Linked DNA regions of Homo sapiens: regions 2, 3, 4, 5 and 6 are each linked to region 1. Evidence: promoter capture Hi-C in 16 types of primary human blood cells and fetal thymus (Javierre and others, 2016). All regions are on one chromosome and are shown on one strand. The core of a region is centred on a gene start or on the middle of the fragment in contact, and the rest is flanking DNA. Distances in the headings are between cores, read along the strand shown. Region 1 holds the start of ZNF350 (zinc finger protein 350). Region 2 overlaps ZNF566 (zinc finger protein 566). Region 3 overlaps ZNF461 (zinc finger protein 461). Region 4 overlaps ZNF585B (zinc finger protein 585B). Region 5 overlaps ZNF570 (zinc finger protein 570). Region 6 holds the start of ZNF793-AS1 (ZNF793 antisense RNA 1).

Region 1 (4,810 bases), core at 870-3,369:
CAAGAATGCTTTTTACATTTTTGAAAGACTGTAAAACAAAAAGCAAATTAGCATATGCAAGAGACCATATGTAGCCTGCAAGCCCTAAAATATTTACTGTAAATTCGCCTGATCCTTGTCATTGAGCAAAGAAAATATACTCAGATGCAACAGGAAAGACCCTCACCAATAATGAGCAAAAGAAGGCTGACACAAAAAAAGAGTGATGTACAATTCCACTGATATACAGAGTTTAAAATAGGCAAAACTGTATTAACTACAATGATAAATAATGATTAATTATATAAAGAAAAGCCTAAAATACTTTTCGGTGTGAGAATGGAAAAAGACTCACAGAACACCACTGGTGTGCTGACCATATTCTATTTCTTGACCTGGGCAATGACTGCTTATACATATATTGCCTCCATGATAATTAAATTGTACATTTAAAATATATAAATGTAGAAAAATTAACAAAGTAAAGGAAGAGATCAACCATACCAAACAGTTTACCTCCAGGAAAGGTGTTAACTCCAGACAACACAACGGGTGAATTTTACAGGTGGGTAATAAAACAAGAACGTCCACTAACACCCTATTTTCCTACTTTATACTGGAAAGTTGAGCCAATGCATTAAGATAAGAATGAATTATAAGCATTACAAAGTAAGACAGAAAATTAATGTTATTTTCAGGCGATATCATCACGAACATGGAAAAAGAGATTCAAGAAATTACATATTTAAAAAAGAAAATGCTCCCTCAGAAACTCCCAGGCAGATTTTCACATACATAGTTGGCTAGAATTGCACCATACGCCTAAGCTCATTTCCATGTCAAACCTATCACTAGCAATGGCAATTGGAACCAGCAAGATTGGCTAAGACCAACAAGGCCTTACTAAGAAACTGGGATTTGGGTCGCCTTGCCACAGGGATGAATACTTCACGAAATGGAGATTCTGTTAAGAAAGTGTGAATATAAGGCGGGCAAGCAACACTCACTATATATTAAGAAGTGAAGGCCGGGCGCGGTGGCTCACGCCTGTAATCCCAGCACTTTGGAAAGCCAAGGTGGGCGGATCACCTGAGGTCAGGAGTTCGAGACCAACCTGCCCAACGTGGTAAAACCCTGTCTCTACTAAAAATACAAAAACTAGCCGGGCGTGGTGGCGTGGGCCTGTAGTCCCAGCTACTCAGGAGGCTGAGGCAGGAGAATCGCTTGAACCCGGGAGGCGGAGATTGCAGTGAGCCGAGATCGCGCCATTGCACTCCAGTCTGGGAGACAAAAGTGAAACTCCGTCTCAAAAAATAAAAAAAATAAATAAAAAATAAAAGAAGTGAATGCAGAGGTTGGCAACATTTTCGATTTTGCCGGCCACGAGGTCTCTGTCACAACAACTCAACCGCTGCCTTTGCAGCCATAGACAATATATAATCGGAGGGTATGACTGAACTTGACCCCCCGATCTGTAAATAGCCACCCCAAGGATCAGAAGAGTAGATATATGGTTTCGAACTAATGCTGGGGGCTGTGTCGCCTTTTGCCCCAGTAACCGAGGTTCGAACCTCAACCCAGGACCCAGGGCTCCAAAGTCTCGAAAGCTTCAGCCCTCACAAGCCTTTGTACCACAGACACTGGCCCCATGCCTCTTACTCATCCGAACCACGGACCAGACACTCTACAGCGATGGACATCCTCCCAGACTCCAACATCACTGAGTTCCAAATTAAATCCTGAACCCGAAGCAGACGCCGCATCGATCCTAATCGCCACCTCCATCCTTTACAAGCAGAGTGATCCATACCTTGACAGTTAGGACACGGCCGTTGATCACTACAGACCCTTAGTCACTGTACTCACACCAAAGGCACGCGGACCACAGACAGGGGGATCACAGACTCCCACCAGGTACCTCCCAAATGCCTATACCCCGGCGCTCCCCAGTCTTCCTGCCAAAAACTATGTGGTCCAGGGTACACCACGTCCTCAGATCTCCCAAACCTTCCACTGAGACAAAACCTGAACTAGGACAAAAAACTTTCAGGGACAAAACCACACACTGACCTCTATTTTCTCCAGATACACAAGAAGGGCCTCAACGTTACACTTCCGTAAACTGCTCCTACTTCTGGAGTCCTCGCACGGGTTTATGGTCCACCTACGGCGGCCGAGGAGAACCTAAAATGTTTAAAAGAGCAAGGACAAGCGCATTTACGGCATTTCCTACTCTGTAAAATGGCCGCGCCCATAGCCGTGGCTCCTGACGGCAGCCATGTTTGAAAATTGGACGCACAGAAGGCAGTGGCAGGTTTTTGAGCCAGGAGCCAGGGAAGAAGAGAAGTCACTGAAATCGCCTCGTTTCCTGGCACTTAAAGTCTTGCGAAAGGGGGCAGATTTTCAGAGACTCAGGCTTTATCAGGCAAATATGGGGCAAGCTAAATTGCCTTTAGCGCTTTTCCATCCACTTTGTTAAATTTAAAAAAAAAGGTTTTGAAAAAGACAAGTAACAGTGCAGCCAGGTGTAGGTATCCCAGAGAATGAATTGGAAATGGAAAAGGTAACAGATCAGGTAGAAAGGGAAAAGGCAACACATCAGGTAGGCAGACACCCACGGGAAAGCGTCTGGCGAAAATTAGCTTGCAGGAAGCGGTTTTTAAGAACAGAAAAATAGCAGGTATTCGGGGGGGCGGGTGGTGAAGAAAGAAAAAAATTATAATTTTTTTTGAGACGGAGTCTTGCTCTGTCGCCAGGCTGGAGTGCAGTGGCGAGATCTGGGCTCACTGCAACCTCTGCCTCCCTGGTTCAAGCGATTCTCCTGCCTTAGCCTCCCAAGTAGCTGGGACTACAGGCACGCGCCACCACGCCCAGCTAATTTTTGTATTTTTAGTAGAGACTGGCTTTCACCATGTTGGCCAAGATGATCTCGACCTCCTGACCTCGTGATCTGCCTGTCTCGGCCTCCCAAAGTGCTGGGATTACAGGTGTGAGCCACCGCGCCTGGCCTCGAAAAAATGATTATTATTTACAAAAAAGAAGAAGAAGAAGGAGGAAGAGGAGGAGGAGAAGGAAGAGAAAAGAGGAGAAAAGAAGAGAAAAGAGGAGAGGAGAGGAGAGAAAAGAGATTTTGAGAATGAATTACGATGTGAGCCTGGCCACGACAGACTAAAGGAATTGGGCCTCCTAGAAAGGCCACTTTTAGTAAAGGTGCCAATGGGAAGAGCAGAGCCAGAATTGAGAGTATAAAAATATTGTTAAGAGTTTTTGACAAAAGTGCCAAGACAATTCAATAAGAATAGTCTTTTCAACAAGCGGCACTGGGATAATTGGATATCCACATCCAGAAAAATGAGTTAGGACCCTCAAACCATACACAAAAGTTAACTCAAAATAGATCATAGATCTAAGTTTAAGAGAAAGTATAAAACTTAGAGAAGGAAAAGGGAGATAATCCTCATGGACGTGAGTTAATTCTGAGAGGAGAGTAAAGGATGACCCACAAAACAAAATAAAATTAATAAAGTGGACTTGATTTTTTTTTAAGTTTGTGCTTCTAAACACAACATTTAAGAAAGTGAAGTGGGGCACGGTGGCTCACACCTGTAATCCCAGCACTTTGGGAGGCCGAGGCAGGCGGATCATCTGAGGTCAGGAGTTCCAGACCAGCCTGGCCAACAAAGCGAAACCAGTCTCTACTAAAAATACAAAAATTACCCGGACGCGGTGGCGCGCGCCTGTAATCCCAGCTACTCGGGAGCCTGAGGCAGGAGAATCGCTTGAATCCGGGAGGCGGAGGTTGCAGTAAGCCGAGATCGCGCCACTGCACCCCAGCCTGGGCGACAGAGCAAGACTCCTCGGTAAAGACACCACTTCGTCACCCTGAATTACTCTGATTTTTATGGGTACAATGAGAATAGTGGACCTAGGAAGAAAAAGTTTTTAAATAGAAACCTTCAGGACAGATTTGGACTTGAAAGACTGACAGGAAGTGTTTCCAGCATCCAGTTAGTCTCAAAGCAACCACTAACCTTCAACTGCACACCTGAAAGCCTCCAGCCTCATTACATTCTCAAACACAGACAAGCCCCGTCTTCCTCTAAATAAAATTGCCTTCAAATTCAATTTAAAACTTACCACAGAGGCACTCCTTTGACACTCCTCCCCCTAGACCTTTCATTCACGCCACTCCTCTTCCTAGCTCGGGCTTCTCTGTATCTGAGCCCCATATTAAATTGCAAATCTGAGCAAAAAACAGCATTCACTGAGACACACTTTCCCCAGTTTTCTATTACTGAGACTCATGAAAAGTGAACATATAGACCTCAAGCTCTGTCCGTGGGACCCTCAGTCATTAAACTCTTAAAACTAAGCCTTAACCTTTGACATCCCAAGGGTCTCTTTCTCACACCCATATTCCTCGGTGACTAAACTGAAATAAAACCCCTGAACACGGACATTCACATGCGTTTCCACTTCATGGTCGTCCCCACAAGCTCCCCATCCGGATTCACACGCAGCATCAGGCTTTCAAGGCTACAGTAGCAGCTGCCAAAGGCTGAACACGTATCAGAACCTACTTCCGATTCTGGAATTCTGGTGCTGCAACCCCATCCTTCGCCATCTCTAAGAACACCGAGAGACTGGGAGGCGGGCTTCCGGAGAGGGATATGGGACATTTCCCAAAGTCCAGGTTCTGGCTTTGAACATTTTATATGAGGTAACATAGCTGTTTTACCTCATAGAGCATATTATGTCATTTCTGATGGGAGTGACCGTAGATTATTAGTGGAGTGATAGACACGCACATCAACAGAATAGAGTCAAGAAA
Region 2 (4,810 bases), core at 840-3,339, about 16 Mb before region 1:
AACCCAGGAGACAGAGGTTGCAGTAAGCTGAGATCACACCACTGAACTCCGGCCTGGGCAACAAGAGTGAGACTTCGTTTCAAAAAAAAGCACTAGTCATAAAAGACAAAGTACTAAATAAATATCTGCTACAAAAATGGGGAAAGACATAAACAGGCAATCTTTTAAAAGACTCTGAAATGTTCAAACACACTCATAATGAGAGAAATAAGAAAACAACAATGAGGGCTGGGCACAGGGGCTCATACCTGTAATCTCAGCACTTTGGGAGGCCGAGTCTGGTGGATCACCTGAGGTCAGGAATTTGGGACCAGCCTGGCCAACATGGTGGAACCCCATCTCTACCAAAAATACAAAAATTAGCTGGGCGTGGCGGCACGCGCCTGTAGTCCCAGCTACTCAGGAGGCTGAGGCAGGAGAATCACTTGAACCCAGGAGGCGGAGGTTGCAGTGAGCCGAGATCGCGCCACTGCACTCCAGCCCCGGCAACAGAGCAAGACACTGTCTCGGGAAAAAAAAAAAAAAAAAAAAAAGAAAAGAACACTGAGGTACTATTTCTCATCTATTAGACTGGTGAAAACTAAAAAACATGACAACATATTCTGTTAGGTGGGCTGTGAAGGGAAACAGACATGCTCATACACAGCAAGTAGGAATAAAAACTGGTACAACAGTTCTAGAGAGGAATTTTGCAATACTTAACAAAACTACAAAGCACTTACCTTTTGACCCAGCAATACCGCTTCTAGGAATCTACCCTAAAGATACTCCTCCAGCAATAGAAAAATACATATATACAAGGTTATTGCAGCACTGTTTCTAGTAACAAAATATTGTAAATGACCTAAATATCCATACGTAGGAAAGCGGTTCAATAAACTATGATAAATCCACAGGCTGCAGTATTATGTAACAATTAGAAAAGAATTATGAATATCTCTTTAACTGCCTGAGTGTTATCCAGAATGTATCATTAAGAGAAAGAAACAATGTACAAAAGAGTGCCTAGAGAATGCTATCTTTAATGTAAAAAGAATATAGGTAACTCTTCATTTGTGCAAAAGAAACACAGCAAGGATAAAGCAGAAACGAATGAAGTTGAATATATACAAGGAGTCTGTGGGAACTAAGTTAATTTTTATTTATTTATTTATTTATTTTGAGACGGAGTCTCGCTCTGTCGCCCAGGCTGGAGTGCAGTGGCGCGATCTCGGCTCACTGCAAGCTCCGCCTCCCAGGTTCACGCCATTCTCCTGCCTCAGCCTCTCCAGTAGCTGGGACTACAGGCGCCCGCCACCACGCCCGGCTAATTTTTTGTATTTTTAGTAGAGACGGGGTTTCACCGTGTTAGCCAGGATGGTCTTGATCTCCTGACCTCGTGATTCGCCGGCCTCGGCCTCCCAAAGTGTTGGGATTACAGGAGTGAGCCACTGTCCCCTGCGAATGTTTTCACATTCAAAATAGTGTAGCCTGCTACAATCAACCAGGATGTGGGGGAACCCAAAATGCAACAAATGATCCTTAAATGTAAGAAAAATGTAAGAAAAAAAAAAAACATACTGAAAAGAGTGGCAAAGAAAAGAACTAAATTGAGTAACTTTGGAAGATGTTTGTTTACTATATACTATAAGCTTAAAGAAAAAGAGCTACACAGAGATTCTCTACTGTAGTTACTAAATACTTTTTACACAGGTCCAGGTTGGCAACTCTGAACTAATTTGCATGTATTCTAGGATAGAGCTAATTATTGATTCTGAGAAGCAGGTTTCTCTCTGTTGGAAAATGAAGTAACAAGGAAATGGCCAAATTTGATGGGAGACAATTCTCCATGGGTCTTGCATGTTTCTGCGTATCTTGCAAGAAGAGGTACTAAGTGTTTTTGTTCTGCACTATTTTACCAAGTTGTTTATACAGTGAACAGCCTTGGAAGACAGAGTCGGTCTCCTTCTACAGCAAAGGGTAGGCATTCTAACTATCCATTATAAAAAATTCAGGTTTCCTAAGGTCAAGGGAACACACAGATACCTGTGTATTTTGCATAATCCTGGGTGTATGACTGAATCAGTACCATGAGAATGTAGATATTCTGAAGATTGCCATGAGCAACAAAGCATCCTTTGTCTCAGACTCAGAAGTCTCATGTTTTCTGAACGTATCTGTGAAACTGACAAGCCAACTTACTAGCTTACAACTAGGGTAAAATCTCAGATAGTTCATAGTTCTTGGGAAAAGAAAATACCCTGTGGTACTGGAATAGAATTAAACATATGAGTGTAAACTGGTGTGTTTTTAACATATAAACAAATAAATAGACATAAATGTGCATGTAGACATTTGTGTATTTTCTCACTCTCTCCACTGACCAGAACCAGAGCAAAGACACACCAGTAGCAATAAGCACACCAAGTGCCCAGATCTTGGTTTATAAATTCATTCTCCAATAAAAGAAATTAATGCTGCTTGGAGAAATTGCTGAGCCCAGAGATGGAAGAGGGAAAATACAAGATGAACCTGGAACATCTTATGTCCCAGAAAGCGGGGTTGGGGGGAAGCTTTAAAAAATGATCACACGTTGAAAAGACACAAGAGCCAACTTAAGGAGCTTCTGATGGCCAAATATGGGAAAATTTGAACAGCAAAATAAATAAATAATAATAATAGAGAATAGAATAAAATAAATATCCATGAGTCCATAGGTAAATAATTGAATAAACAAATGGGGACAAAAGAAAAACTTCAGCTGAATTAAATGTAAAGGAGTTTCATTGAACAATGAACGATTCGCAAATCAGGCAGCCCCCAGAATCACGGCAGATTCAGAGACACTCCAGGGATGCCTCGTGGTCAGAACAAATTTATAGACAAAAAAAAGGGAAGTGACATACAAAAATCAGAAGTGAGGTGGAGAAACAGCTCAACTGGTTACAAGTTCTTGTTTGCCTTTTTTTTTTGAGACGGAGTTTTGCTCTTGTTGCCTAAGCTAGAGTGCAATGGCACGATCTCAGCTCACTGCAATTCTCCTGTGTCAGCCTCCTGAGTAGCTGGGATTACAGGTGCACTCCACCACACCTGGCTAATTTTTTGTATTTTTAGTAGAAATGGGGTTTCACCATGTTGGTCAGGCTGGTCTCCAACTCCTGACCTCAGGTGATCCGCCTGCCTCGGCTTCCCAATGTGCTGAGATTACAGGCGCCAGCCTCTGTGCCCAGACAGTGTTTGCCTTACTTAACACAGTTTGAACACTCAGCAGTGTATGAGTGGTTGAAGTATTGCTGCTGGGATTAGCCAAGACTCAGCTTGTTACAGGCACATACACTGTTACAGGCACACAAGTTAGGTTTCCAATTCTGTCTACCTGTTAGGTTACAGTTCGTCCATAAGGACTCAAATATAGAAGTACAAAGTCCTTCTCAGGCCACATTTAGTTCACTTTTAACAGGAGCAAGAAGAGACAGCTCTTCCTTATAGTAGAATTTAAATTATCAAAGTGTAAGAAATGATAGAAGGAGAAAATCACCGCTAGGCAAACATCACAGTAATAATTGTTACAGGTAAAAATTATCAATGAATGTTAAAACTAATGCGTGAGAAAACATGATGAGAAATAGGATTTTGGCATAGTTTCTTTTTTTTTTTTTTTTTTTTGAGATGGAGTCTCGCTCTGTCACCCAGGCTGGGGTGCAGTGGCGCGATCTCAGCTCACTGCAAACTCCACCTCCCGGGTTAACGCCATTCTCCTGCCAGAGCCTCCCGAATAGCTGGGACTACAGGTGCCCACCACCATGCCCAGCTAATTTTTTGTATTTTTAGTAGAGATGGGGTTTCACCGTGTTAGCCAGGATGGTCTTGATCTCCTGACCTTGTGATCCGCCCACCTCGGCCTCCCAAAGTGTTGGGATTACAGGCATGAGCCACCGCGCCCAGCCATTTTTACATAGTTTCAAATTATTTCCCCACAAGATACTTATTCAATAAAATGGGAAAAACAGTGATTTTACAGAGGAGAAATCTGGCAAACAACACTGTTACCAAGTTCTCAAAGTTAACATTGCTAATAATGAGATATACTAATATATATATCTCCTGATATGACACATTGAGAAGAGTTCAACATCATTTCTGTGATCTTCTTGCCAAAACTGCCCAGTCTAAATCTAACCATAAGGAAACATCAGGCAAACGCAAATTGAAAGATATTCTGCAGGCTGGGTGTGGCAATCCCAGCATTTTGGGAGGCCAAAACAGGAGGATGGCTTGAAAGCAGGAGTTCAAGACCAGCCTGGGCAATATAGCAAGATGCTATCTCTACAAAAAAAAAAAAAAAAAGAAAATAGCCAGGAGTGGTGGTGTGCACCTGTAGTCCCAGCTACTCAGGGGCTGAGGTGGAAGAATTGCTTGAGCCCTGGAGGTTGAGGCTGCAATGAGCCATGGTCATGCCACTGCATTTGCACTCCAGCCTGGATGACGGAGCAAGACCTTGTCTATTAAAAAAAAAAAAAAAAAAAAAAAGTGGCCGGTGCTGGGCGCGGTAGCTCATGCCTGTAATCCCACTACTTTGGGAGGTCAAGTCGGCCAGATCACCTGAGGTCAGGAGTTCGAGACCAGCCTGGCCAACATGGTGAAACCCCATCTCTACTAAAAATACAAAAATCAGCCGGGGGTGGTGGCAGGTGCGTGTAATCCCAGCTACTCGGGAGGCTGAGGCAGGAGAATCGCTTGAACCCAGGAGGCAGAGGCTGCAGTAAGCTGAGATCGCACCATTGCACTCCAGCCTGGGGGACAAGAGCAAGACTTCGTCTCAAAAAAAAAG
Region 3 (4,810 bases), core at 1,595-4,094, about 15 Mb before region 1:
TGCTTTTATTAAACAAAAAATTTAGAAGATTTTAAAAAATAAATGTAATGTCAAAATATATACGCCAGATACTCTTTAATCCCACTGTTGGGAATCTGCACAATAGAAACAAAAGAAGGTAAAATTAGAGTTCTAGGTGAACATTAGAAACAACTTCAATGTCTGTAGTAGGTAATGGCCCAAAATACGGACATACATTCCATTCTAGAAATATTCTGAACCTTACAAAGAATGGGTTACATCTTTACGTACTGACCTGGAAAAGTATTCATGATTATTATGAAAAGGACAAGACGCTGTCAAATGTCTGTATGGGGGTAAAAGCTCCTCCAAACACATGCAAAAAATGCTTTCTGTGTACAGGTTGTTTGAGCATAAAGGAAGAAGAAATACACATACTGGTTATCTCAGAGATTTGAGGGAAGGGAGGAAATTGTTTTCATTTTATTTCACTGTTTCAGTGAAATATTTCACTGGTTTCAGTGAAACATGTAATTTTAGAAAATTTATTCTCAATAAAAAAATTTATTCTCAATAATGGTTAATACAATAACTCAGAAACAGCATTAAAATGAGACCAAAATTTACACTTTAGTTATCCACTTTCTCACTTAAAAACATTTGATTTTCAAGGATTATTTAAATAAATAAATACTAATGAAACTGGTGGCTTACCAACTTTTTCCTTAAATAAAACAAAGACAATGTATATTTCCATCAACAAATTTCATGATGCTAGACTAGGATGGGGAGGGAGGAGAGGAAACCTGACTGGCTTCTCGCCAGTATGAAGAGTCTGATGTAAGTTAAGTTGTAATCTATGATTAAACGCCTTCCCGCATTGATAAGGTTTCTTTCCAGAATGAATTCTCTGATGGTGTGAGAAGCTTGAATGATAGCTAAAGGCCTTCCCACATTCCTTACATTCATAGGGTTTCTCACCAGTATGAATTCTTTGATGTTGAATAAGGTGTGAATGAAGTCTAAAGGCCTTACCACATATCATGCATTCATGAGGTTTCTCACCAGTATGAATTCTCTGATGTCTTTTGAGGTGTGAACACTGTCTAAAAGTCTTCCCACATTCCTTACACTCATAGGGTTTCTCACCAGTATGAATCCTCTGATGTAGGGTTAGTTGTAAGCCATCACAAAAAGCCTTCCCACATTCATGACATTCATAAGGTTTCTTGCCAGAATGAATTTTCTGATGGTGTGAGAAGCTTGAGTGATAGCTAAAGGCCTTCCCACATTCCCGACATTCATAGGGTTTCTCACCAGTATGAATTCTCTGATGTATAGTAAGATGTGAGCGATGCCTAAAAGTCTTTCCACATTCTTTACATTCATAAGGTTTCTCTCCAGTATGGAGTCGCAGGTGTTCAGTAAGTTGAAAGCCACGAATAAAAGCCTTCCCACATTGCTTACATTCATAGGGTTTTTCACCAGTATGAAGTCTCTGATGTTGAGTAAGCTGTGATCGCTGTCTAAAGGCCTTCCCACATTCTTTACATTCATAAGGTTTCTCACCAGTGTGAATTCTTTGATGTAGAGTAAGTTCTGAGCCATAATTAAAGGCCTTCCCACATTCGTTACATTCATAGCGTTTTTCACCATTATGAATTCTTAGATGTTTAAGTTGTGAGCAATGAACAAAGGCCTTCCAACATTCTTTACACTCATTGCATTTGTCACCATTTTGAATTGTCTGTTGTTTAAAAAGGCATGGTGTATTAACAATTTCTGTGCATTCTTTACATTCAGAAAGTTCTTTAGAATGAGTTCTTTTGTGGTGACTAAAAAATAAATGGTAACTGAAGATTTTTCTACACTTTTTACATTCAGAGATTTTCTCTCTATCATAAAATTCTTGAGTGAGTAAAGTATGTTGGCTAAAAATGGGCATGTTTTCATGGTTAATCATAAGTTGTCTAAAATAACCCTCCTCTTGTCCCTGATGTTGCTCAAAATGACAGTTGCCTTCCCAGATAGCGCTGAAAATTGATCTCTCAGGACTATGGCTTTTAAATTCTTCCATGTTAACCCACTGGGATAATTCTGTTTCATAAATATCCCTTTTTGGAGATAACTTCTGGGGCTCATCTCTGGATGCCAAGTCTGAAAGATAAGAAATATATTTTAACTCCTGGTTTTGTACTATAAGAGAAATAAAATATCTATGGTAGCAATGAGAGATAACTGCAAATAATTCATATAAGAAATAAAAGGCTTGGAGAACTCTTAAATGGGTAAAGGAGCACAGGGAAATGAGAGCACTCAAATGAAGTAGTTAATTAGGGAAATAATTCAATGGTGCTGAAATTTTGATCCACCTCTGAATTACCTTGAGAGTTTGTTGCAATTATGGATGTTCAGGAAACATTCTAAATCAACTCAATCAGAATCTAAGAGAGTTGGTCTTAGAATGAGGTCAACTGAGTCAGAGTTCATATGTTTAACACTATCAGGCCAAAGGTTTATGCAGCAGATTGTCAGCTGTTGCCAAATATCTATTTTTTTCCCTTTTTAAAAAATATCAATTGAACCCATGGCTTTTTATTTGAGAATAAAGCTGCCAATATAAACTCTGCATTTCCCAAGCTCTTTCACAGCTGAGAATGCCATGCAACTGGGTTCTGCCTAAAGAAATACAGAAATATTATGTAATACCATCTGAGTTCTTTCGTTAAGAGCCAGGTGGCCCACGCCCTATATTGCCTGTTTTCCCTCTTCCTCAACAAAGCTGATGGCAATATTGATTTGCTGTCATGTCTATCAAATAATGGTTTTGCAGAGTAGATACCTTTCTAGCTTGGATTTTAATGCGAGAGAAAATTAAATTTATATGCCTGGGTTATAGACATTGTATCAAAAAAAGAAAATTAATTTAAACATCTATATGGTTTCAATCGCTATTGTTCTGGGTCTCTGTCACAAGCAGCTTAACCTACAAATACAGCTTCCCACAGAAATTTTAAAACTTCAGCTCCTAGGCATGAGAATATAGGGCTTCTGCTAACCAATATAATCTCATTTTGAGTCCAATTCCTTTTTATTCATTAAGCTATAACCAAATTAATCTGTCAACAATTAGGACATGCCAAAGCCTTTTCCTATGTTAGAGCTTCATAGCTTCTTCCATGTGCTAAGAATCTTTTTGCCTAGATTTTTTGTATAGCGGGCTTCATTTCATCTAAGTCTCAGAGTAAAAGTCACTTCCTCAGAATTGTATTCCTGATAATATTATCTAATGAAGTCCTTCCTGAAGTACTACTGGAATTACATATTCATTTATTAATCTTTTTAATATTTGGCCAGGCATGGTGGCTTATACCTGTAATCCCAGAACTTTGGGAGACCTAGGCGGGTAGATCACTTGAGGTCAGGCATTGGAGACCAGCCTGGCCAACATGGTGAAACCTGTCTCTACTAAAAATACAAAAATTAGCTGGACGTGGTGGCGGATGCCTGTAATCCCAGCTACTCGGGAGGCTGAGACAGGAGAATTGCTTGAACCGGGAGGTGGAGGCTGAAGTGAGCCAAGATCATGCCACTGCACTCCAACCTGGGCAACAGAGTAAGACTGTCTCAGAAACAAACAAACAAACAACAAAATATATATATATATAATATATATATATGTTTTTTTACCCATAAAGCTACTCAAGGATAGAGAAATCACTATAAAAACAACCTTTACAATATAATAAGTATTCAATAATCAGTTGCTGAATGAATGAATTATTAAGGAAAAGGAATTAAGATGAAGAGAAACAATACAAAGATAACAATTGACAATCATAATCATTTAATGCCCTTAAATTTGTAATAACTACTGAACATCTCTCCATGCTTCTATTCACTCCTACATCGACTGCACTGATTTTATATATAAACACATACATAAATAAACCATGTACTTGCTTATCTATAACAAGCCACTCCAACTGAGTGGCTTAAAACAGTAAGTCATTTATTATTATTATTACTATTGCTGTTGTAATTATTAGTGAAGACCAAGTCATGCTCTGTCACCCAGGCGAGAGTGAGCGCAGTGGTGCAATCACAGCTCACTGCAGGCCCGACCTCCTGAGCTCAAGAAATCCTCCTACCTCACTCAGCTTTTGGAGAAGCTGAGACTATAGGGGTGTGCCACTATGCCCTGCTAATTTTTAAATCATTTTTTGTAGAGAAAAGGCTCTCACTTTGTTGCCCAGGCCGGTCTTGAACTCCTGGTTTCAAGTGATTCTCCTGCCTCAGCCCCTCGAAGTGCTGAGATTATAGGCACGAGCCACCACACCAGACCCATTTATCATTATTGTCTTTCAGTCCTGAGGATTAACTGAGCTCAGCCAGGCATTCCTTACTTGGCATTTCTCTAGTGACAGTCACACACTGGTCAGGCTGGATCATTCCAATGGCTTCCTCCACCCACATGTCGGGTACCAGGCCTGAGGAAATATGTAAAGCTTGGGACTGTAACAGCTGTGATGCCTGGGGCTTTCTATCCTTATGTGGTCTCTCTACATGGTGTGTCCAGCATAGCTGTTTCAAGGTAAGAGATGCCCTCTTACCTGGCAACTCCAGACTCCAAAAGCATATGGGGAAGTGCAGGCAGGGAGGGCGGGCATATGAGCATATGCCAGGCACAAGCTGTCTACTTTTATGACCTAGCCTCAGAAATCACAAAGTATTTCTATTTATTGGAAACAATTCACTTAGGGCTGTCCCATTTTCAAAGCAGGAAGTTAGACTTCTTTTTTTTTTTTTTTTGGTTTGAGGACTGTCACAGAAGCACAGAAGTGGCAGA
Region 4 (4,810 bases), core at 1,355-3,854, about 15 Mb before region 1:
GGCCACCACGCCCAGCTAATTTTGTATTTTTGGTGGAGACAGGGTTTCACTATGTTGGTCAGGCCAGTCTCAAACTCCCGACCTCAGGTGATCTGCCCGCCTCGGCCTCCCAAAGTGCTGGGATTACAGGCATGAGCCACCGCACCCAGCCTTCAAGAGCCTTTTACTTATTTGTAATTTAATGCTCTTTGTCAGAAAACAATCAATATTATAGCAAAGATTTATATTTTTTATCTGCTTTGATCAATAAGCTTCTGAAAGTAGTGTGATAAAATGGCCAATATTGCATTTAATGATTTCTGTTCATTTTTACTTAAAATAGTTCAAAGATACATTATTAATTAAAAAAATGCTAATAATTTGTATAATTCTTTGTACATGATTCTTTTCATAAGGATGAACAACATGTTTTCATCCCTTTAGGTGATTTTCATCTTAAATCCCTTTTGATCTGTTCCTAAATTGCAGCCCTAGCTTTCTTTTGGCTCACTCTCTTATTTTTAAATGAGGACAAAAGCAGTCCTAACCTCTGAGAGTTAGCCTCGTACTATCAATTAAGCCTCAGTGTTGCTAGAAGCTAACCTGGCAAGGGCCAGCTAATTCATGGTGTTCTCCATGGTGCTACACAAAAACAATCTCTTAGAACACCAACAGCAAACAAGACCAATCTCTGACCATCATGGTGTAAGATGATACCAAGACCACTCTGTCGTTATATTTGAGCATAGACAAAAATCAGAACATTCTTCAAACCACAAAAGTGAATAAAAGTCTCCTTATTCTGCCTAATGCAAGAGACTGCTGCTTTTTTCTTTTGAGACAAAGTCTATCTCTTTCATCCAGGCTGGAGTGCAGTGGCATGCTCATAGCTAGGTGTAATCTCGAACTCTTAGGCTCAAGTGATCCTCCTGCCTCAGCCTCCCGAGCAGGTGGGTCTATAGGCACACAGCACCATGCCAGACTAATTGTTTTTCTTTTTTTTTTTTTTGAGACAGAGGCTCACTCTGTCACCCAGACTGGAGTGCAGTGGTGCAATCTCAGCTCCCTGCAACCTCTGCCTCCTAGGTTCAAGCGATTCTCCTGCCTCAGCCTCCTGAGTAGCTGGGATTACAGGCGTACGCCACCATGCCTGACAAATATTTTTTATTTTTAGTAGAGACGGGGCGTCACCATGTTGGCTAGGCTGGTCTCGAACTCCTGACCTCAGGCAATCTGCCTGCCTCAGCCTCCCAAAGTGCTGGGATTATAAGTGTGAGCTACCGCACCAGGCCCAAACTAATTTTTAATTTAATTAAATTTTTTTTTTGGTAGTGACAGGGAATCACTACATTGCCAGGGCTGGTCTTGAACTTCTGGCCTCAAGCCATCCTCCCACCCTGGCTTTCCAGTGTTGGGATTACAGGTGTGAACGACCGTGCCCAGCCAACTGCTGCTGCTTTACCAACTGTAACTTTAGCCTCAAGCTATCCTTCCTATCTTCTAGAATAAAATTATTAAGATACTCAATCCTAAAACTGCCCAAGAGCAACTAAAGTAGAGGTTCACTGAGGTGCAGATGAGACTCTCACCACGTGACTAGAACCCTGAAATGAAATTCCACTACTTCTAATATATCCAATAGAAAGAGAAGGCATGACAATATCCACTGCGATATTGTTCATAATAGTTTCTGTATTTTACCAAACAAACATTAAAACAGCAATGTACAAAAAAGTTAATCTGCTATGCCATTCTGAAATCAAGAGAAAAAAATTGTAGTTGTTTTCATTTGTATACAGAACTAAGCAATCAAAGAAAATGAATAAAGCAGGTTATCACTACCGGGAGACACAGGTAGATGGAAGGCAGAGGTGGGTGAACCACAGTCCCATCTCTTTCACCATAATACTTTTCAATATATTGCTTTTCATATATTTCTAACTTTTGAACTAGGTATATGCATTGCCTATTCAAAAGATTAAACTATTCCTAATAAATTATCACAATATCTTCAGATGGATAAGAAATAACAATACACCCAGGCCGGGCATGGTGTCTCACACCTGTAATCCCAGCACTTTGGGAGGCCGAAGCAGGTGGATCACCTGAGGGTCAGGAGTTCGAGACCAGCGTGGCCCAGATGGTGAAACACCATCTCTACTAAAAATACAAAAATTAGCCAGGCGTGGTGGCTCGCACCTGTAATCTCAGCTACTCAGGAGGCTGGGGCAGGAGAATTGCTTGAACCTGGATGGCAGAGGTTGCAGTGAGCGGAGATCATGCCATTGCACTCCAGCCTAGGCAACAAGAGCAAAACTCCATCAATAAATAAATAAATAAATAAATAATTTAAAAAATAACATTACATCCATGAAATAAGAACGGGATGGCAATAAAAAAAAATTTAGGAAACAGGCTGGGAACAGTGGCTCATGCCTGTAATCCCAGCACTTTGGGAGGCTGAGGTGGGCAGATCACCTGAGATCAGGAGTTCGAGATCAGCCTGATCAACACGGAGAAACCCCGTCTCTACTAAAAATACAAAATTAGCCGAACGAGGTGGCACATGCCTGTAGTCCCAGCTATTTGAGAGGCTGAGGCAGGAGAATCTCTTGAACCCAGGAGGCGGAGGTTGCAGTGAGCCGAGATCATGCCATTGTACTCCAGCCTGGGCAATGAGAGCAAAACTCTGTTTCAAAAAAAAAAAAAAAAATTTTAGGAAACAAACTAGAGTTTTTAAAAATTAAAACATTAAGTTAAAATGTGGATAGTGGTAATGAGAAGCTCAATAGAAGGGCTGGAAGGCAAAAGGTGTCAAAGTTACCCAGAATGGATAGCAGGAAATACATAGAAAATAGTAGAGAAAAGAAATGGAGAAGCAACATCTGAAAAACAAGTTTCAGAAAGAAAACAGAGAAAACATTTGTGTTTGAGGAGGTGGTTTAGGAAGAAATGAAAAAATGCTTTCAAAATCTCAAACAAAAGTCACTTCTAACAAGGAATTCTATTTGCAGCCAAAACATCAATATAGCGTGATGACAAAATCAACAACAGTTTTCCTTGACAGTGCACCTCTCCACTGTCACACAGGTGGCCTCCAGAGACGGAGACATTACCCACGTGTTCATTCTTGACAGGAAGATCAAGTTTTCTTTCAGGAGCACCAAGTCTAGAGTCCAGCTGGTTCCTAAGGCCTGTCTGCCTCTGCCCTAAGGCTGTGGTGACAGATTAGAGCTATCTACTCTTGGACTGAAATTCCACCCCTTGGGACTCCTCCTCCTCACCTCATAGGAGCTGCCATGATCCTCTGGAGCCAGGGCTGAGGATTTCTGGGGTGAGGTCCAACTAGCTGGCATGGCCACACTGGATCTCAACCCTTTTTGTCTAGGGTGCCTGAAGTTTAGTGGTCATCTGTGAACTCAGCAGAGCTGCTCCGAAGAGGTGGGCTGGAGTCTGGAGGAAGGTCTGGCCCAGGGACTCCCCAGAGACACCCAAGAACCTAGAAAAACAATGTCCACGTAGTCATTCAACATTCACTACATAAACACTTCCTGGATACACCAAGGTGCAGGTCCCTGCGCTAGAAACCAGAGCAGTGGTTCCCAAACGTAGGTATGCATTCAAGTCACCTGGAGGGCTTGTTAAAACATAGTTTAAAATTCTCAACTTCACCCCTTCGATGGGTCTAAGGTAGGCCCTAAGAATTTTATTTTCTAATAAGTGCCCAGGAAATGCTGATGCTGCTGGTACAAGAACCACACTTTCAGAACTGTGGAGAACAGTGCTGAAATATGGGAAAAGCCATGAAATTTAGAGTAACATTACTGCAGATTTGAACTGCAGCTGTACCACTTTTCAACAATGAGAATATAAAGAAGTTACTCAGATTTTGTTTCAGAAATAAGGATGAAAATGCCTGTGTCACAGTTACTAAGATTAAATGAGATTATGCTTTTAAAGTACTCAATGCCTCCCTGCCATGCAAGAATCACGCAATAAATATCAGCAATTACCATGCACTATATTAAAACGTAATACAGAAAACCATGTCATCAAAACAAGTAAGATAATAAACATATCAGACAATGTTGATCTATATATGAAATAAAAATGATATGCGATTGAGTGTGCACACGGCATTCATTGTATACATATCCCCAATTGGTGCATGCAATTGGCCATGCATCTGGAATAAAACAAACTAGATCTCCACCTCACACAATATTTTTTTCTTTTAAGATGGGGTCTCGCTCTGTGGCCAGGCTGGAGTGCAGTGACACAACCTCATCTCACTGCAACCTCCACCTCCAGAGTTCAAGTGATTCTACTGCCTCAGCCTCCCAAGTAGCTGGGACTACAGGCATGCGACACCACGCCCAGCTAATTTTTGTATTTTTAGTAGAGTCAGGGTTTCACCATGTTGGCTGGGATGATCTTGATCTCCTGACCTTGTGATCCGCCTGCCTCGGCCTCCCAAAGTGCTGGGATTACAGGCGTGAGCCACCGCGCCCAACCCACCTCACACTATTAAGTAGACAAATTCCAGGAGCACTAAACATTTAAATACATGCATTTTTTAAAACCCCTAAGGATATTAAAATAATTTTCAGACTATATATTTGTATAGCATTGTGGTGGGGTGATAAGGATCTTATTACACATGACAGGAAACCCAGAAGCTATAACAGAAAAAAACAGGTATTTCTGATTATGTTTCCTAATTATATGTTTAAATAAACCATAAAATTCGACATAAAGATATATAAGAAATTTTTTCAATATGTGATGATAGCTTGCTTGTAATGTTAACTCTAAGCAATCACTAAGCAAA
Region 5 (4,810 bases), core at 1,294-3,793, about 15 Mb before region 1:
TTGATTAGTCTCGTAAATTCTCTTTTTCTTCTTTAGAAACATTTGTGTAAAATAAAAATTATTTGTTTTTTGAATGTTTGGTAGAACTTTGTTCATTTTGGCTTGGAATTTTTATTGTTAAAAGAATTTAAACTAATCATTCAATTTGATATGTTCTAAAATTCTAGGTTTTCTATTTCTCCTAGAGGCAATTAGGGTATTTTTTTCTAAATATTTTTAGTTTTGATGTAAGTTTTCAAACTTATTAGATGAAGTTGTCCATTATTTTTCTGGTTCTCAATGATTTCTTGATCCGTGAATTATTTAGAAGTTTGAAATTGAAGGCTTTTGTTTGGTACTTGTTTAATTGTATTATGGTTAGAGAATGGGATCTCTTCAATATACATTTATTGAAAGTATTTTGAGACTTGCTTTATTTCTTAGGGCTAGTTTTGGTAAATATTCTTTGTGTCCTTGAAAATAATATGTATTTTCTGGTTGTTGAATACAGTGTTTGATATTTGCTCATTAGGTTAAGCTCATTAACTGTGCTGGTCAAATCTTCTGTGTCCTTATGAATTTAAAAAAAATGTCTTTGAGCCATCAATTACTGAGAGACATGTTAAAGAAACTTCTACTCTGGTGGTAAATACATAAATTTTTTTCTTGTAATTGTAACAGCAGTTTTTTTTATATTTTGAAGGTATTTCATTTGGTCATATGTTTTTAGAATGTTTTATTTTTCTAGTGAATTCTTATATTATTGTTACTCTCTTTAATTCTAGTGACTATCTGATTAAGCAAAAAGAATTCACTTAATATTGTTATAGCTATATTTGCCTTTTGTTAATATTTACTTGATGTAGTTTTTTCCTACTCCTTTATTCTCCGGCTTGCTGTGTGTTTCTCTTATAAGCAGTATTTGGATAAACATTTTTTAAAATCCAGTCTGATAACCTTTATCTTTTAACCAAATGATGGTGGTGGTCAGTTAAATTTTTTGGTACTATTAATAGATTTGGATTTATTTTCCACTACCTCACTTTCTTTTATAAATTGTGCCTTTTCAAATTTTTCTTATTTCTTGGTTTTTCTCCATCTCCTAATTTGAATGTTTTACAATCTATTTCTATTCTGTACTGGTTACCTTAGAAAATCTAACATTTATAGTCACCTTAACAAAACCTAAAATTAATTCTAATCTTTATATTTGACCACTAAAAATACAAGAACGTAGCCAGGCACGGTGGCTCACGCCTGTAATCCCAGCACTTTGGGAGGCCGAGGCGGGTGGATCACGAGGTCAAGAAATCGAGACCAGCCTGGCTAACATGGTGAAACCCCGTCTCTACTAAAAATACAAAAATTAGCTGGGCGTGGTGGCATGCACCTGCAGTCCCAGCTACTTGGGAGGCTGAGGCAGGAGAATCGCTTGAACCCAGGAGGTGGAGGTTGCAGTGAACCAAGATCGTGCCACTGCACTCCAGCCTGGGCAACAAGAGCAAAACTCCATCTCAAAAAACAAAACAAAACAAAACACCAAGAACCTTAGACTGTCTTAACTTCACTTACCCTCATTTCAGTTATTCCTTGCTTTTCTTAAATTATTATTTTGCTTTATGAAGTTGTATAATAGACCATTATTATATTTATTTAATTTAGACCATATTATATTTAGTGTTGTTTAGATTTATCCACTTTTGGCTAGGTGTGGTGGCTTATGGCTGTAATCCCAGCACTTTGGGAGGCCAAGGCAGGTGCATCACTTCAGTCTAGGAGTTTGAGACCAGCCTGGGCAGCATGGTGAAACCCCGTCTCTACAAAATGCGAAAATTAGCTGGGTATGGGGTGTGTGCCTGTAGTTCCATTTACTTGGGAGGCTGAGGTGGGAGGGTCGCCTGAGCCCAGGAGTTCAAGGTACAGTGAGCTGAGAACGTGCCACTGCACTACCGCCTAGGTGACAGAGCAAGGCTCTGTCTCAAAAAAAAAAACAAAACAAAAAATTATCCATGTTTGTCATTTTCCCTGTTCACCATTCTGTCCCAGAACTTTTTCCTGAAGTAACTTCTTTATAAATATTTATATACTATTCATATCAACTTTTATTGTTGTTATGTTTTGTTCATTTATATGATAGTTTTGCTGTCATGCATAGAAGAAGCTTTCTCTGTCAGTCATAGATTGACAGATTTTTTTTTTTTTTGAGATGGAGTCTTGCACTGTCACCCGGGCTGGAGTGCAGTGGTGCAATCTCGGCTCACCGCAACCTCCCCAACCCGCGTTCAAGCAATTCTCCTGCCTCAGCCTCCCGAGTAGCTGGGATTACAGGGCGTGCCACCACGCCTGGCTAATTTTTTGTATTTTTAGTAGAGATGGGGGTTTCACTATGTTGGCCAGGCTGGTCTCAAACTCCTGAGCTCGTGATCTGCCCGCCTCAGCCTCCCAAAGTGCTGGGATTACAGGCGTGAGCCATTGTGCCCGGTGACAGATTATTTTTATGAGTGCTTTAAAGATACCATTCCATGCTTTTCTGGCTTCTGTTCTTGCTTTTGAGAAGTCAGTTTTCATTAATATATTCTTCCTTGCAACTTTTAAGAACTTTCTTCTTCTTGCCCTGGTTATTCTGTATTTTCAATGTGATGTATCTAGATGTAAATTTCAGCTGCTGTAGTTGGGATTTATTGTGATTTTTTTTATCTGACCATTAATGGACTCTGGGTAATTATCAGCTATTATCTCTTCACATATTGTCACTTTCCCATTCTCTGTGTTTATTTTTCTTAAAACTCCAGTTACATGTGCCTAAGACCAGACTCACCAGGGATAAATTGATGCTCCCAGCTTCAGTTCCACCTTACTTACTTGAAAGTGCCTTCCACAGTCTGTTTGACCTCTGAGAGTTTACCTTAATTTCTTGCCAGCTTGGTAATGCAGCTAAAAGAAAGTTTTTCTATTTCTACAAAATTGTAAGCTTTTTTGTACCAGGAAGATTTGTCATTATAACTAGTCTGCTGTATTGCCAGACTACTTTAGGTACCTCATATAAGTGGAATCATACAGTATTTGTCCTTTTGTGACTGGCTTATTTCACTTACTGTAATGTCCTCAAGTTATATCTGTATTATAGCATATGTCAGAATTTCCTCCTCGTTTAAGGCTGAATAATCTATTGTACGTATATACCACATTTTGTGGTGATTTCATGGAATAGCAACCAGCTATTACTCCTCTACTCAAACCACTTCAATGGGTCTCCATCTGTGTTAGGCCATTGCACTGCTATAATGAAATATAATACCTGAGACTGGGTAATTTCTACGAAAAGAGGTTTAACTGGCTGTCAGTTCTGCAGGCTGTACAGGAAGCATAGCGGCATCTTCCTCCGAGGAGGTCTCAGGAAGCTTCCAATTATGGCAGAAGGTGAACAGAGAGCAGGCACATCTCTTGGCAAAAGCCAGGAGTGCATGAGAGATGGGGGAGGTGCCACACACTTTTAAAGGACCAGATCTCATGAGAATTCGCTATCATGACACTACCAACAGGATGGTACTAAACCATTCGTGAGGACTCCACCCCCACGATCCAGTCACCTCCCACCAGGCCCCACCTCCAACATTGGGGATTACATTTCAACACGAGATTTGGATGGAGCTGTATTACCATCTGTTACGGTTTGGCTCTGGATCCCCATCCAAATCTCATCTTGAATTGTAATCCCCATGTGTTGAGGGAGGGACCTGGTGGGAAGTGATTGGATCTTGGGGGCAGTTTACCTCATGCTGTTCTCATGATAGTGAGGAAGTTCTCAAGGGACCTGATGGTTTAAAAGTGGCAGTTTCCCCTGCTTTCTCTCTCTCTCTCTCTCTCTCTCTCTTTCTTTCTCTCTCTCTCTCTCCCCCTCCCCCCCTTTCTCCCTCTCTCTGTCTCTCCTGCCACCTTGTAAAGAAGGTGCGTGCTTCCCCTTCATCTTCTGCCATGATTGTAAGTTTCCCGAGGCCTTCTCAGCCATGCAGAACTGTGAGTCAATTAAACTACCCAGTCTCAGGTAGTGTCTTTACAGCAACGTGAAAATGTTCTAATACACCGTCCCTCTCAGAGTAGAAGCCAAATTCTTTAGAAGGCCGGTGAAGCTTAAATAATCTCATTACCTTTTACCTCCTGACTTTATATCCTACTACTCACTCTATAGCCACACTGGCCTTCTTAATATTCCCCAGACATAGTAAACATGCTTCTAGTTTTGGGCCTTTGAACCAGCTGCTGCCTCTTCCCTGAATGCTTTTTCCCCAGAGACTTGAATGACTGACTGACTTTTTCACTTTCTTCAAATCTTTGCTTAAATGTTAACTTGTTAATGATTCCTAGCTCTAATTTCATCAGTATCCATGACATCCCCTACCCTGATTTTCTTTCTCTGAAGCACGTAGTATCTTCTAACATAAAATGAAATTTACTTATTTATCACTTATTTTCTGTCTCTTCTAAGAAAATAACATCCCTGAAGGTAAAGATCTTTGTTTTGTGATATTAAAAGCATCAGAACAGTATCTGGCAAAAGGTAAATATTTGTTCAGTGAATGTTCTTGAATGAAGCAGCTAAAAGAATGGAGACTGTTTCAGTGTCTATTTTATGAATACAGGCATAAAATTGTAACCAACTCTGACCACATCTCTAATTTCTTCTGCCCTGAGATTTACTGATTTTTCTTTTATAATTCTAATCATTCCTTCTTAGGTTTCTGTATGACCTGTTTTCAGTTTCTCTTCTTGTACACTTCAGAACTGCAAAAGCCAATGTTCCTGTGGGTTTTGCTATTTAATTCACATATTT
Region 6 (4,810 bases), core at 1,664-4,163, about 14 Mb before region 1:
GCTCCAGAGCAAGGAAGCGCTGTGCCTCCTTTTAGGCCAAATTTGGGGCCCTGTACCCTTTTAAATGATGACAGTGTCTAGGGCCACCACATTTAGTTCAAGGCTTGGACCTATAGGCATAAGCTCACTGGAACAGGTGAGAGCTGATGGTCACTGCAGGTTGGGTTAGCCCAGAGCCTTGGAGCTAGTCTGCCTAGAGGCTCCTTTCTCGAATTCCTCTGCCTAGAGGAATCACACTGTCATAGGCCATAAATGCTAATGATGACCTTGGCAGGGTCCTATCTTTCTGCAGACTATGATAAAGTTCTGTTACTTCTTTTCTCACTCCCTCTGTTCCCTGGCCCACATCATTACTCAATACTCTGAATAGTATGCTTTTTCTTTTAAAAATGAAGGTATAATTTACATATAATAACACAAATAAGTGTTCACTTTGATGAGTCTTTGACAATTACGTAGGCCCATGAAACTACCACATAAAACAAGACATAGAACATTTTCCTCACCCCCTAAATTATCTTCGAAGTCATAGCCCCAGCCAGGCACAGTGGCTTACGCCTGTAATCCCAGCACTTTGGGAGGCTGAGGCATGCGGATCGCTTGAGGTCAGGAGTTTGAGACCAGCCTGGCTAAGATGGTGAAACGCCATCTCTACTAAAAATACAAAAATTAGCCGGGTGTGATGGCGCATGCCTGTAATCCCAGCTACCTGGGAGGCTGAGGCACGAGAATCACTTGAACCTGGAAGGAGGTTGCAGTGGGCCGAGATGGAGATCTCACCACTGCACTCCAGCCTGGGAGACAGAGTAGAGACTCTGTCTCAGAAAAAAAAAAAAAAAAAAAAAAAATAGCCCCTGGAGTCAACTGCTTTCTGATTTATAACTCAATAGATCTGTTTTGCCTGTTCTTGAGTTTCTCATGACTGGAGTCCTACAGTGTGTACTCTTCTTTTACCTGTTTCCTCTTTCCATGTGTACTCCTTCCCCAATCAAGAGGTCAGCTCCTTGAGTAGCCTCTATTTTTACTCGAGTACTCAGTCTTCTTTTTCCCAATTCAGTTGCTGAGATATATTTAGGTTCTAATAAATTTTGGGTAAAATTTAATAATGATGCTAATGATCCTTTACTTCTGAATAACACAGAAACACCCAGCTCTGAATCCTTGTTGCTTTATTTACTCACTGAATGATTACGGACAGGTCACCTCACCCCCGTGTTGCAGTTTCTTTTGAAGCGTGATGATAACACTATCTTTACAATGTTTGTGGCAGTCTTTAATGTTATTCCAAAATATCGCCAGCTCTTCCCATCCCAGAATTATGGTAGGATTACATGTCTGCTATCACACTCCTGGGTGGCCATGTGACGTCTCAAAGACTAGTGAATGGAAATGACATGTATAGTTTTTGAGGCAGAACGTTTAATTCCCAGCAAAAGACCCTCAAAGGCTGTCTTTCCCTCGGCCTTCATGAGTGACAATTTACCAGTTGTGGCTGCTTTATTGGTCTAATCCTAGAATAAGAACAGCCCTTGAAGTGAGCAGGCCAGTGATCAATCAGGCATTTAATAGGCACTTTATAAATACTCATTTTACTTCAATATTATTATTTTTGTTTTTTTAGAGACAGAGTCTCACCCAGGCTGGAGTGCAATGGCACAATCTTGGCCCACTGAAACCTCCACCTCCTGGGTTCAGTGATTCTCCTACCTCAGCCTCCCGAGCAGCTGGAATTATAGGCGTCCACCATGCCGGCTAATTTTTGTATTTTTAGTAGAGACGGGGTTCCAACATGTTGGCCGGGTTGGTCTTGAACTCCTGACCTCAGGTGATCTGCCCACCTTGGCTTCTCAAAGTGCTGGAATTACATGTGTGAGCTACCATGCCCAGCCTAAATGGTGATTTTAAATTAATTACTATAATCACTTCAAAGTGTTGTCATATAAACCACTTATATTAAATCAAATGAAGCAAGGACCCTTGACCTCTTTGTTAAATTTTAAAAATCTAGCAGAGCCATAGGCCTTTAATTTTTCCATCGCAAGGAAGAAGAGGAAACTGGTAATAATCTCCTCTGACAGAATAATCTCGCAACTTTAGGAACTTTATTTAAAGAATTCAGAAATGGGGTTGGGCGCGGTGGCTCACACCTGTAGTCCCAGCACTTTGGGAGGTCGAGGCAGGCGGATCACCTGAGGTCGGGAGTTCGAGACCAGCCTGACCAACATGGAGAAACCCCGTCTCTACTAAAAATACAAAATTAGCCTGGCGTGGTGGTGCATGCCTGTAATCCCAGCTACTCAGGAGGCTGAGGCAGGAGAATCGCTTGAACCCGGGAGGCAGAGGTTGCGGTGAGCTGAAATTGCACCAATGCACTCCAGCCTAGGCAACAAGAGCGAAACTCCGTCTCAAAAAAAAAAAAAAAGAAGAAATGTCAATTGTAGCATTTTAACACAGCATTGAAGTTATCTACTGATGCATAGCAAATTACCCTAAACTCAGAAGCTTAAAACAACAAACATGTAGTATCTTACACACTTTCTGAGGGTGAGGAATATAGGAGCTGCTATAGCTGAGTGCTTGTGACTGTGTCTCTCACGCAGTTGCAGTCAAACTATTGGCAGGGGCTGCTGTCATCTCAAGGTTTGACTGGGGCTGGGAGATGTGCTTCCAAGGGTGATACACTTGGTTATAGGAAGGCCCCAGCTACTCCCAGGCTATTGGGTGGAGGGCTTAGTTCCTTGCTACCTGGGCCTCTCCATAGGCTGTCTCGGTATCCTCATGACATGGCAACTAACTTCTCTCAAAGTGGGGGCAGCAGCCTTTAAGACAGAACTCAAGGTGCCATTTATTATATTTAATCTCAGCAGTGACATCTATCACTGCTACTGCATTCTATTAGTCTCACAGTCCAACCCTGGTACAATGTGGGAGGGAACTACATAAGAGTGTGAATAGTAGGAGGTAGGAATCATTGGGAAACATTTTGAGGTCAGTTATTGTATCAGTTGCTAGGATGACCAGTTGGAATTAGGATTTTTTTAAAAAGCCATTTTCATAAGACAAGGCAATCTTTTCTAGAGATGTTCCAATACCTGTGATATGCGGAGCACTGCGCTAGGTGGTATTCAAGGCAGGCCTGTAGTGAATGCTGTTGGACCCAGCCACCACCCCTGAGCAATCATATGCAGACCGCTGGCTTCTTAACTGCAGACACCTACAGACTCAGCCTAAGACTTTCCCACGAGGCAGGCTCGAAGTGCTGGAGCTTTAACACCTCTGGAGTGGCCCTAAAACAATTAGGAAGAGAGATGGTGTAGACATATGTAAGCTTCATCGGCCTGGTGGTTGTGAAAACTTGGAAGTGGTTTCTACACAATCCCCCAGAGGTCCCAAGCTGACTGAGCCCTCATTGATCCAGAGCTAATCTGCTCACCTATGCACTGTATATTCGTTCCCATCGCTCCCGTCTCACTTCTCCATCCCCCACCTACCAAATAAACTGCTTGCACTCATTCTTTCCTCAGGTCGGCTTCTCGGGCAAGCCTCCTTAGGTAAAAACCTTGCTTTCAACATTTCCTTTCCATTATGCGCTAAGAACTCTGATCTCTTCCCGCTGCGGCAGCCCCGCCCTTTCCTTGCGGCTCCGCCCTTTCCGTGAAGTCACGCCCGTCCTTAGGCTGTCTCTGTCTCCCTAAGAGCGAGTCTCTTCGCTGCTCTCTAACTCCTAGAGCTGGCTCAGAAAGAGTTTCACATTGCCATAGGGGAGCTCCTAGGAGAGGCTGCACCCATTGCACGTAAGAAGCGGTAAAAATGTACGCGGCCATCTTACCAGGCTGCCGGAGACAAAGAAAGCTCAGCTTTGATGTCTGGGCGCCACCATGTTGGCCACAGGAGGTTTTGGCATCTGAGATGCTGAGTTAAGAGCAGAGACGACATCTCTGTTTAGGGATCCAGGGACACTTCCTTCTCCTTGTCCTAAAATAGCCTTATCTTTTGGTCTAGCAAAGGGCTTAATCATCCGTTTTACGGCACAGTTTTAAACATGGCCGCCCCAGGTAGGAGTCAAGTGGGCGTCGCCATCATACCTCCAATTACAGCTTTGAGAAACCCAGAATCCTGTTCACTGGAAGGTTGCCGGGTGGCGGCTGACAGCCTCAAAGTCGCAATTGAGTCTGCGCACCGGCCATTCAGGATGGGACGACCTTATACCGCGGTGAGGCGGCGTGGCAGGACGACCAATTTCAGATTCAGGGCGCGGATGCAGCATAAATGGGAAGGCACGGTTTGAGAAACGGTCAAACCTGGGACTAGTGGAGGATAGTGAGCTGCCGACTACGGTGGCCGACTGGGTCAGCTATGGGTGCCCGTGAGGGTCAATGACAAGGGAACTGAAGGGTTAAGAGATTCGGCGTCTGAGCCTCGCGGGGCCTCAGTGGTGGCGGACAGAGGTTTGCGGGAGTCAGTGGCACGGTCTCTGAAGAAGATGGATTGGGAGTGTGTGGGAATCAATAAATGCGAGTTCTGTGAAATGTCTTGATTTTCAGGGTGCATGGGGTCAGTAATAGTGGTCTTCATGGGTCTGGGGTCAGTTGGGATTTTTCAGACACTGGTTTAGAGATCTTTAAGGTTAATGATCGGAGCCCGAGAGGATCAGTGATCGGAGGTTCTAAGTTCTGTGGGCAGTAATAGTTTGGGTACTGGAATTGGTGATTGTGGAAACTTTGGGGTTCAAATGAGGGAGGTCAGTGGTGATGAATGTTTGGAGAAATGTTTTGGGCCATCGGTGATTGAGACTTACTTCATATCATCG

What was found. The method cuts DNA at HindIII sites, captures the fragments that hold promoters and counts their contacts. A CHiCAGO score of 5 or more calls a contact.
Region 2: a fragment that was not itself captured here is called in contact with the fragment with the promoter of ZNF350 in region 1 in 2 of 17 cell types (non-activated CD4 T cells and total CD4 T cells); the score reaches 5.9 in non-activated CD4 T cells.
Region 3: a contact is called between a fragment that was not itself captured here and the fragment with the promoter of ZNF350 in region 1, in 1 of 17 cell types (non-activated CD4 T cells). The highest score is 6.3, in non-activated CD4 T cells.
Region 4: a contact is called between a fragment that was not itself captured here and the fragment with the promoter of ZNF350 in region 1, in 3 of 17 cell types (total CD8 T cells, non-activated CD4 T cells and activated CD4 T cells). The highest score is 8.4, in total CD8 T cells.
Region 5: a fragment that was not itself captured here is called in contact with the fragment with the promoter of ZNF350 in region 1 in 1 of 17 cell types (activated CD4 T cells); the score reaches 7.8 in activated CD4 T cells.
Region 6: a contact is called between a fragment that was not itself captured here and the fragment with the promoter of ZNF350 in region 1, in 7 of 17 cell types (total CD4 T cells, non-activated CD4 T cells, total CD8 T cells and 4 more). The highest score is 14.0, in total CD4 T cells.

The regions. Positions count from the first base shown.
Region 1 is chr19:51,984,721-51,989,530 of GRCh38, forward strand. It overlaps ZNF350 (zinc finger protein 350), which reads right to left and starts at 2,120. Exons shown (of 5, transcript NM_021632.4): 1 at 2,050-2,120. RefSeq lists enhancers at 1,585-2,460, 2,047-2,286. The HindIII fragment of the contact is 6,623 bases long and covers 1,585-4,810 here.
Region 2 is chr19:36,480,963-36,485,772 of GRCh38, forward strand. The region is part of intron 1 of ZNF566 (zinc finger protein 566); the gene reads right to left. Among named protein-coding and RNA genes, the nearest start is that of ZNF566, 6.2 kb to the right of the region's middle. The HindIII fragment of the contact is 921 bases long and covers 1,630-2,550 here.
Region 3 is chr19:36,637,926-36,642,735 of GRCh38, forward strand. It overlaps ZNF461 (zinc finger protein 461), which reads right to left. Exons shown (of 6, transcript NM_153257.5): 6 at 1-2,118. The coding sequence ends at 728. Among named protein-coding and RNA genes, the nearest start is that of ZNF461, 27 kb to the right of the region's middle. The HindIII fragment of the contact is 3,246 bases long and covers 1,222-4,467 here.
Region 4 is chr19:37,203,777-37,208,586 of GRCh38, forward strand. ZNF585B (zinc finger protein 585B) reads right to left here. Exons shown (of 5, transcript NM_152279.4): 2 at 3,264-3,478. The coding sequence starts at 3,335. Among named protein-coding and RNA genes, the nearest start is that of ZNF585B, 4.4 kb to the right of the region's middle. The HindIII fragment of the contact is 4,710 bases long and covers 250-4,810 here.
Region 5 is chr19:37,478,990-37,483,799 of GRCh38, forward strand. All of the region lies in intron 4 of ZNF570 (zinc finger protein 570), which reads left to right. Among named protein-coding and RNA genes, the nearest start is that of ZNF570, 12 kb to the left of the region's middle. The HindIII fragment of the contact is 810 bases long and covers 2,139-2,948 here.
Region 6 is chr19:37,502,754-37,507,563 of GRCh38, forward strand. ZNF793-AS1 (ZNF793 antisense RNA 1) reads right to left here and starts at 4,334. Exons shown (of 3, transcript NR_110723.1): 1 at 4,086-4,334; 2 at 3,093-3,287. ZNF793 (zinc finger protein 793) reads left to right here and starts at 4,186. Exons shown (of 8, transcript NM_001013659.3): 1 at 4,186-4,213. RefSeq lists enhancers at 3,104-3,895, 3,896-4,687, 4,253-4,402. The HindIII fragment of the contact is 826 bases long and covers 2,501-3,326 here.